Linked DNA regions of Homo sapiens: all the other regions are linked to region 1. The links are contacts of gene promoters, found by promoter capture Hi-C in human tissues and cell types (Jung and others, 2019). All regions are on one chromosome and are shown on one strand. The core of a region is centred on a gene start or on the middle of the fragment in contact, and the rest is flanking DNA. Distances in the headings are between cores, read along the strand shown.

Evidence for each region. Contacts are between HindIII fragments. The study calls those that stand out against the background at their distance.
Region 2: a contact is called between a fragment that was not itself captured here and the fragment with the promoter of PLCXD3 in region 1, in 3 of the 25 tissues and cell types used here (heart left ventricle, hippocampus and mesendoderm cells).
Region 3: a contact is called between a fragment that was not itself captured here and the fragment with the promoter of PLCXD3 in region 1, in 2 of the 25 tissues and cell types used here (H1 embryonic stem cells and dorsolateral prefrontal cortex).

Annotation. Positions count from the first base shown.
Region 1 is chr5:41,509,299-41,511,998 of GRCh38, reverse strand. PLCXD3 (phosphatidylinositol specific phospholipase C X domain containing 3) reads left to right here and starts at 1,398. Exons shown (of 3, transcript NM_001005473.3): 1 at 1,398-1,575. The coding sequence starts at 1,473. RefSeq lists an enhancer at 1,044-1,872. The HindIII fragment of the contact is 4,804 bases long and covers 1-2,700 here.
Region 2 is chr5:41,361,730-41,364,429 of GRCh38, reverse strand. The region is part of intron 2 of PLCXD3 (phosphatidylinositol specific phospholipase C X domain containing 3); the gene reads left to right. Among named protein-coding and RNA genes, the nearest start is that of PLCXD3, 150 kb to the left of the region's middle. The HindIII fragment of the contact is 6,132 bases long and covers 1-2,700 here.
Region 3 is chr5:41,291,591-41,294,290 of GRCh38, reverse strand. All of the region lies in intron 1 of LOC124900969 (a long non-coding RNA gene), which reads right to left. All of the region lies in intron 1 of LOC102723740 (a long non-coding RNA gene), which reads left to right. Among named protein-coding and RNA genes, the nearest start is that of C6, 79 kb to the right of the region's middle. The HindIII fragment of the contact is 3,537 bases long and covers 1-2,700 here.

The DNA.
Region 1 (2,700 bases), core at 149-2,648:
ACCAAAATAAGGCGTTGCCTCTCCTCTATCTTTCCCATAGTGCTCCCCATTTGGGGGTGAATATTCTTAGGACTTAGCATCATTGTAGAAAATAAGGTAGGCTCTAGGTTTTTTCTTATTTTTTAATGCTATTTGGGATTAAATGGATTTACTAACCTTGAATAATTATTCTCATGTTTCATGGCTCTCTTTGTCTCCTATGTTGATTGTCATTTCCGCAATCTAATAGCATTTCCCATAGAAAAATAAAAATTTACACAACCCTGGCATGAAAGAACAGAGGTCTGTTTATTGCATTTCCATTTCCTGGGTTGCAAAAGCCCAGCACACTTTCAGTTCATCTCTTATAATTCCTATTCAGGCCACTGCTGCTCTCATTACATTTGTAAAACTTCATCTCTCTCCTTTTACTCATCTGAGAGCAGGTGGACCCAGACAGTTCTTTGGAGGCCCAGTGAGTGATTTCTCTTGAGAGAGGCACATCTTTCCAGTCTGCAAAGGAATGAAAATGCAGACAGTCACATAGATCACTTTGAATGGTGCCAAATACATTCCACCAAATGCTACTGGCAATAATTAGAGCATGTCACTGGGAGATGTGGCGATTTTCTTCCAGCATAAGGCTCCAGTCTTACCCTGAGTGCCATGAAACTGACAGGACAGAGGCAGTGTTCTCCATGGAAATAATGTAGACTTCTCATGATCTGAGAAAAGAAGGGGGAGTAGCATTTCTTGACTTTGAAATGTCTGGAGCAAGGTACCCAGGATTAAGTAGGAACCACCTAGAATTTACCATGCCCTTCACTGACTCATACTTACCAGCTATTTCACAAAGTAGGCAAAAGAGTGAATAAAGATAATCATTTTTTAATAAACAGGGTTGTGGTCTCTGGCTGAGGAAAGGTATAACCTGTTGTAGATTACAAAAAGGAAAGCTCTTTGATAAGGACGGAAAGCCCTGAAACCCAGCATGAGAAGTCTGTTCCTCAGGAGGCAATAACATCCCAAAGTCTGCTAGGATTTTAGGTTCAAGTGCAAGACTGTCTTTCATACAAACAGGACGAGAAAGTCACAGCAAAGGATCGAGCAAGCCATGGGCAAAGCAGTTGGAAAAAAATGAATAGAAAAGAAAAATAAGAAACCAGGGAAAGCTGCAGAATGGCGAGGAAAGGCAGAGACGCCTAGGAAGGATAAGACGGGAGGAGGGGGTTGGGGAGGGAGGGGAGAGCGGAGAGAGCTGAGCACGGACGTCAGGAACAAAAGCTCCAGCGGAGTCTGGCGGAGGCACTAAGGGAGCACGGGGTGTTTTGAATAATTATTAAAATTAGCATGTGTCTGCGCCATCCTGTGGGTGTGGCGCAGAGAGGAGTGTAAACTCTAGCGGGGCTAGAGCAAACATTGGATTAGCGGCAGCAGCCTGCCAGCCTGCCCGAGGAGTGCTGGGACCAGCGCGCTGCACGCCGACTGGCACGATGGCCTCGTCTCAGGGGAAAAACGAGCTGAAATTAGCCGACTGGATGGCAACTCTGCCGGAGAGCATGCACAGCATCCCCCTCACCAATTTAGCCATTCCAGGTAGGCGCGCAGGGGCTGCGGGCTAGGCGCTCGGCGCCCGCTCCACCTGCCCCGCCCTGCTTTATCTGCCACTAAGTGGTAACTTGCCACGATGCCCGCGGGAGGGAAACTCGTCTTCCAGGGTGGGTCTCAGGCCAGGCGAGCGCGTGCCGGGTAGCCTTGGGCTTCCTGGCGTTTTCCAAACCCCTAAGGACCGAGGCGCTAGAGTCAAGGTGACTGCTTTTCTCCTGGGCTTTTGAAGCAGGTTGTATGCGGAGGACTGGGGCAGAGGAGAAGCTGGGCTCCAGGATGGTGCCTCGTGACCCCCTCCTATGGTTTCTCCTGCAGATTTGGGGAAGTGGGAGAAATCTCTGGGTCTGCGGGGTGACCGTGTGTGAAGAACGCGAGCTAGTGTCAGGGGCTCGCCTTCGGTGCAAGGACCTGAGTCTATCCCTGGCATGGAATTGGGCGGATTTGATAGATTCTCGGCTACAGTCATTAATATTCGTCCCCAATCTCCTTTAAAAAGACAAAGCGCTTCCCGAAGAGTGATGAAAGTTCAGGGACCAGAGGCGGCGTGATAGCTGCCCTTGAAAAGGAGCCCAAGGGGGCGACGGGCAGAGGGCACCATTTCGTATCGGTTTGGACCCCGGGGGACCTGGCCGAGTGGCCGCTGTCTCGAGTCTGGTCCAAGTGCGTGTTGGCAACACACTTCGCCCAGGTCAAAAAAGCAAACCCTTGCGGACCGTATGTTTACTGCTCGGGACAGAAGCTGGGCAGGGGAACCTGCGTGACCTGAGCGGAGGGGTGGGATTAATAGGCAAATAGTACGGAAAAGGTGACTGAGAATGTGTCCAGACAGTCTAGAAGGAAAGAAGCGTGGACAAAGCGAGGAAGAGACCTGAGGGATCAAGAAGCTTCAGCTTGATGTGTGCGACTTGGACCAGAGACTGGGCAGGTTTCTAGGGTGGCAGCTCCTAACAACCCCCTAGATCAGGTATCCAGGAGTGAGGGTCGTTTCAGGACAGTTTACAACAATGACAGCTGGGACACGGCCATACTTTATTGTCAATTTGGCTATGCAGTTGGGCTGGGGGAGCACACACTTGATCTTTTCAGAGCTGGGCTGGAGGGCAAATTACTCAT
Region 2 (2,700 bases), core at 95-2,594, 150 kb after region 1:
GCAAAATAGCATGGAAAAAAATTTTACTCTTTGATTACCAAAGAAAAATACATGCACTCACTTTTGCTTATGGAAACATGAGGACACAGGGGTCTTAACACTGATTGTAGTGAAGGATCCTGAAGAGACTGAGGGTGAGAATTCTTATCCTTGAACAGGGTTTCTCAGCCTCGGCAATATAGACATTTTAAGCAAGGTAATTCGTTGCGGGAAGCTGTCTTGTGCATAGTAGGATGTTTGGCAGCATCCATGGCCTCTACCCACTGGATTCCAGTAGCACCTTCCCCTGAGTTATGACTGAAAAAAATGTCTCCAGTTATTGCCAAATGCCCTCCCCCCATGCCCACCCCTGGAGGAGGATACAGAGTTGACCCTGGCTGGAAACTGGTGGACTAGAGCTGCCACTGCACAAAAAATCTTGTGACAGTCATTTACTTTTGCAGATGCTCTATTTCTTTACACATTAAACAGATGATACCAACTGTCCAGGGATTAGAGAAGCATAAAATACTTAGAAATATGGCATGTTTTTCATTTAAACAAATATGACAAAGCTTACACATTTTTAGTGTCTACTGACACCTGCATATTAGTCACCTTGGGAATTTACTCATTTATCCAAGTGATACTGAAGCAATTTTAAGAATAATTTTAGTCAGGGATAAGTCCTTCTCCTTTCAGGATAAATTGCTTTTTGAAACAAGCTAGGCTCATTCAAGTTTAGCAGATAAGGTAAGTGAGCAAAGCTAATGAAGGCTCTTTGGAGTCAAAATCTAGGTGAAACAATAATGAGATGGATTTTTCTTTCCTCATGAACAGATACTAAAGTCAATTTCAATAAAGGAGTCTTAAAAAGATTCGGAGTCATTCTGTCATTGATGGGATAAGTGAACAGTCATCTCCATGGGTAATAATTCTGAATGACAGCTCATCTTCAGCTTATAAGTATTGGGATGTCAGTTAAAAAAAATTCCACTACTTTAGAGTCATCTGTCATAGAATAAGATAAGAGAAAATATCCTGAATTCTTGGAGAAAGTCTTTTTAAAAAAATATATTATTATCTGTATTACTTGGATCAAGCAGTAGATATTTACAGAACATTTACTGAGTGTATGCTAGTGACTGTACTTTAAAATGATTAGGACATAGCCCCTTATCCTCAACATGGTTACCCTGCAGTGGGAGAGACAAATTAATAAACGGTTTATTTCCACATCATGTGGTAACTTCTAAGATAAGTCAAAATCAGTTATTTACCTGGTTTTTCAACCCAGCGCTGCCATGTACCGACTAACTCTGTAAGCCAGGAGAAGTCATTTAATTTCATCTGCTTTCAGTTTCCTTATCTGAAAAGGCAGTTGTCCCCTCTTCTAGCATCATTATGCTGATTCTGTGGTAACAATGACAGTTTCTATGGACATATGTACTATAATATGTTGTAAAAAAAAATCTGATCATATGATGTCTAAATACTAAACACTAGTTTCATTTGAATTATTACCGAAACAGGAAGAGATGCCAAAGTAGACATTCATGAACACTAACTGTTGAGAGAGATTCGACTTGTTACTGGTAGTTGATTATTAAAGAATGACCCTAAACCAAGTGAATTGCCCTTATTTCTTCTTCCTGGACTACGCAGCACTATAATAAACTACATGGTTGGTTGATCAGGAGTTGCTGTATCCCAGTAAAATAGCAAGCAGTAAAAAGCGAAATAAAATGTCTACATTTAAAACTTAACTCATAAATCTTTTGTAATTTAAATTATTGTGTTATTTTAAACAACAGGAGTGACATCCACAAACCTAAGGTGAAGTTTGTTTAACTTTCAAGGTGTCGGTTTCTGATTTTAACATTCTCAATTGTAAAATGAAGAGATTGGAATTAGAACTAATATTTTTTGCATGACTATAATAGACATATTATTTATGTTCTTATTTCAGTCCTCCTAACAACTAAATGATGCAGATATTTTTATTTCTATTTTACCTATGGAAGAAATGAGCCTTAGCCAAATAAACCAACTCACCTAGCCTTGCACAGCATCTGTGGCAGAGCTAGGATTCAAACATGTGTCAGTCTGATTTCAAAGTCTCTGTTGCTTTTTTTCACCCCCTACACATCACTCCATTTTTTGAGTTGTCTCTGATGAAGATCTGAAATTATATAATTCTTTTCACAGTGACTCAAAAAAGTAATATGAAAGTATCACACATTTTCTAACTACAAAATGAAAAAGAAGAAAATGTTTGTCTACTTCCAAATTCAGGGACAAACAAAAGTCCTGTCAGATGAGTAGCTTTTTACACGTAAAAATGGCTTCCAAAGAGTGTCACTGATTCTTGCCCAGAATATTTCTAAATCCCCAAAGCTTCAGGGATAGAGCAAAAACCAATCCAAATTTCAGGTTATCTCTCTTGGTCAATGTACTAACTGACAGGCTAACATGAAAGTAAGCGTGGTGGTCTAGTTGGTGGCCTGCCCAAAGAGCCACTTTCTATATCTCTAGTTTTGTTTTTAACTCTCATCTGTGAGAGCTTTGATGATTCAAGAGTTTGTATATTAAAATTGTGATAATTAGTTCAATATTCAAGCAGTCAATGAAGTAAAATATTTATTGTAACTGTACTACTTCTGTATCATGTAGACTTTTTATTTTAATGTGGTAAATAAAACAATAGATTAACTGACAGCT
Region 3 (2,700 bases), core at 100-2,599, 220 kb after region 1:
GGAAATATGTGATTTATCAGGTTGAATGCTGCTGAAAGGACAAATAAAATGAGGATTGAGAATTTGACCTTTGGATTTAGTAACTTGAAATCATTGTTGACAAGAGCATCTTTACTAAAATGATAGAAACAAAGACACAATTTGAGTGGGTTTAAAAGAGAATGAGAAAGGAGGAACTAGAAGTGACTATATGCCATATTTTTTAGGGGTTTTGTGGTAGAGGAGAGCAAAGAAATGGAGTGATAGGCTACAGGGAAAAATAGGGTAAAGAGAGGGTTTATTTGAGATTATTAAAATAATAGCATATAAGTAGATGAATGAAAATAATTCAACTGGAGAAAAAAATTGATGATGCAAGAGAGGAGCATTTCTGGAGTAATATTCCTGAGAATGTGAGAAGGCTGGAATCTGATAAACAATTGAAGAGGCTGTCCTTACTAGGAACACGGACACCTCATCTACAGCAAGAGGAAAGTGAGTATAAGGGTGAGGATGCCAGTTGGTGGATAGATGTGGTGTGGGAACTTGTGGACCTCTTCTGATTGCCACAGTTTGCTCAGTGAAATTGAAAGCAAATTTATCAGCTGAGAGAGGAAGAGTGAATTGTTGTTGAAGGTAAGCAGAGGGCTAAAAGGGTATTAGTCATCTATCATCCTTTTTGTTTTCTAGTTTTCATTAATTCTAAGATACCTACCTCCATCTCATCTACCCCAATTACCAATGCTGAATGGTAACCAGAGTAGGAGAATTCAGGGAGTGGTATCACAATGAATAGAACCTGGTTATGCAAATGACTGCCCAGTCAATTCCACTATGTCCCATGGGGCCCTTGGGATGGGGCTAAAACTAGGCTCTGTTCCTATCACTTAAAAGCTTTGTAGAAGATGGGCACAGTGGCCCATGCCTGTAATACTGAAAGTCTGAGGCAGGCGGGTCACTTGAGCCCAGGAGTTTCAGACCAGCCTGGGCAACATAGCAAGACCCCATCTCAGAAAAAAATCTTTGGGACCAGCTTATCCATCTTTTTGTCCAATCCCAGCAGCTCAATAGACACCAGATCAAGTCTACGGGTGAGGGGTAGGACGGAGCCTCTTTTGTTGCTTGGAATGTCTGCTTCAGAAAAAGCTGAACCAGTTTACTCTGGTAGGCATCCAGGAATTCCGGACACCGTGATGATGGAAGATGCACCCAAAGTCATCTTCCTTCCCTCCAAGCATCTACCAGATAAGCATGAGTTAGAATATCATGCCCTAGGAAATTCAAAGAATTGAAAAAATATTGCTTGCTTTCTTCCCCTTTCCTCTGCCCTCTATTTTTCATTATATTCTTTCCCAGATACATAATCAGACACTCCTTTGCATATGCAAGAAAAAGGCCTAAATTGGGAACTACACTTTACCTTCTGTTGTGAAAAAAGTAAATCATAGTATTTAGAATGCCTTGCCTGTATAAAGTATATAAATTTTATACATGCATTATTTCATTTAATAGTCACAAAAACTTTACCAAAATTGGATACTAAGTAAAGTTCTAGTGTCCAATTTTGGTAAAGTTTTTGTGACTGTTAAATGAAATAATGCATGTATAAAATTTAAATACTTTATACAGGGAAGGCATTCTAAATACTATGATTTAGTATGACTGTTTACTAATTATTTTGTATAATTGTATACTAAGTATCCAATTTTATAAATAAAGAAACTGAGTTTTGGGGATTTTAAATTATCTATTCAAGTTTACATGAGCAAAAGATGGCTTTAACCCAGGATTTGACTACAGATCCCATGATCTTTGTACTAGACTCCATTATAATTGCCCATCTTTCTCTCAGCCATTTATCTCCCTCCCACTATATTAAATCAATAAGATTCTAGATGACCTTAGTTCACCTAAGCTTACAATATTCAACTAGAAATTGATCAACTGTGGCCATATAGCATATTAAAGAAGGATTCTAAAGATTTTAGTCAGTCGAAACAGACTCTTCATCAGTAAAAATAGAGAACTAGTATCTTTTACTAGTTACTAATATGTTTAAAGAAGATTTAAATTTCCCTAAGTTATAGAATTCTGGAGAATCTGTAACCCAATATTCAAGTAGAAAAGTAATTTCTTTAATTTCCAATACCTTAGAAATTAAAGAAGGTTACCAAGGGCCCCACAGACCAGAAAAACCAGGTAAATGAGTTTAGGTAAAGAAAAAATAAAAGTAAAAACTCAAGGGATGGTGTGTGGAATGAGAAACTGACATTTATCAAGCTTTCTGGTTATTTTGAACATGTTATTTATTTCAACCTTGATAACCATGCAATAAAAGGAGCAAGGCCTCCTAAAGGATAACAATGTTCTCAGCATTACAAAATCTCTAAGTAGAATTTAAACCCAGGACTGCCTGATGCCAAAGCTCATGATCTTTGCACTAAATATAGAAGTTATAAGAAAGAAAAAAAGTTATTCTATTTTTTCAAGACTCCTGAAATACTTACCAATAGCAAAATGGTTACAATAAATGTATTTAAGCCAAAAACACAAAGTGGCCTGAAACAGGTCAGACCATATGAAGTCTGTACCACCCTCTTTCTGCAACTGCTCTCAGCCATCTTTATTGATTTGATTTGATTGCTCTGCATTTTCCATCGACAGCTGCTTAGTGGTGGCTTTCAGTGATTAGCTAAAACATGTATCTGCACAATAACATAC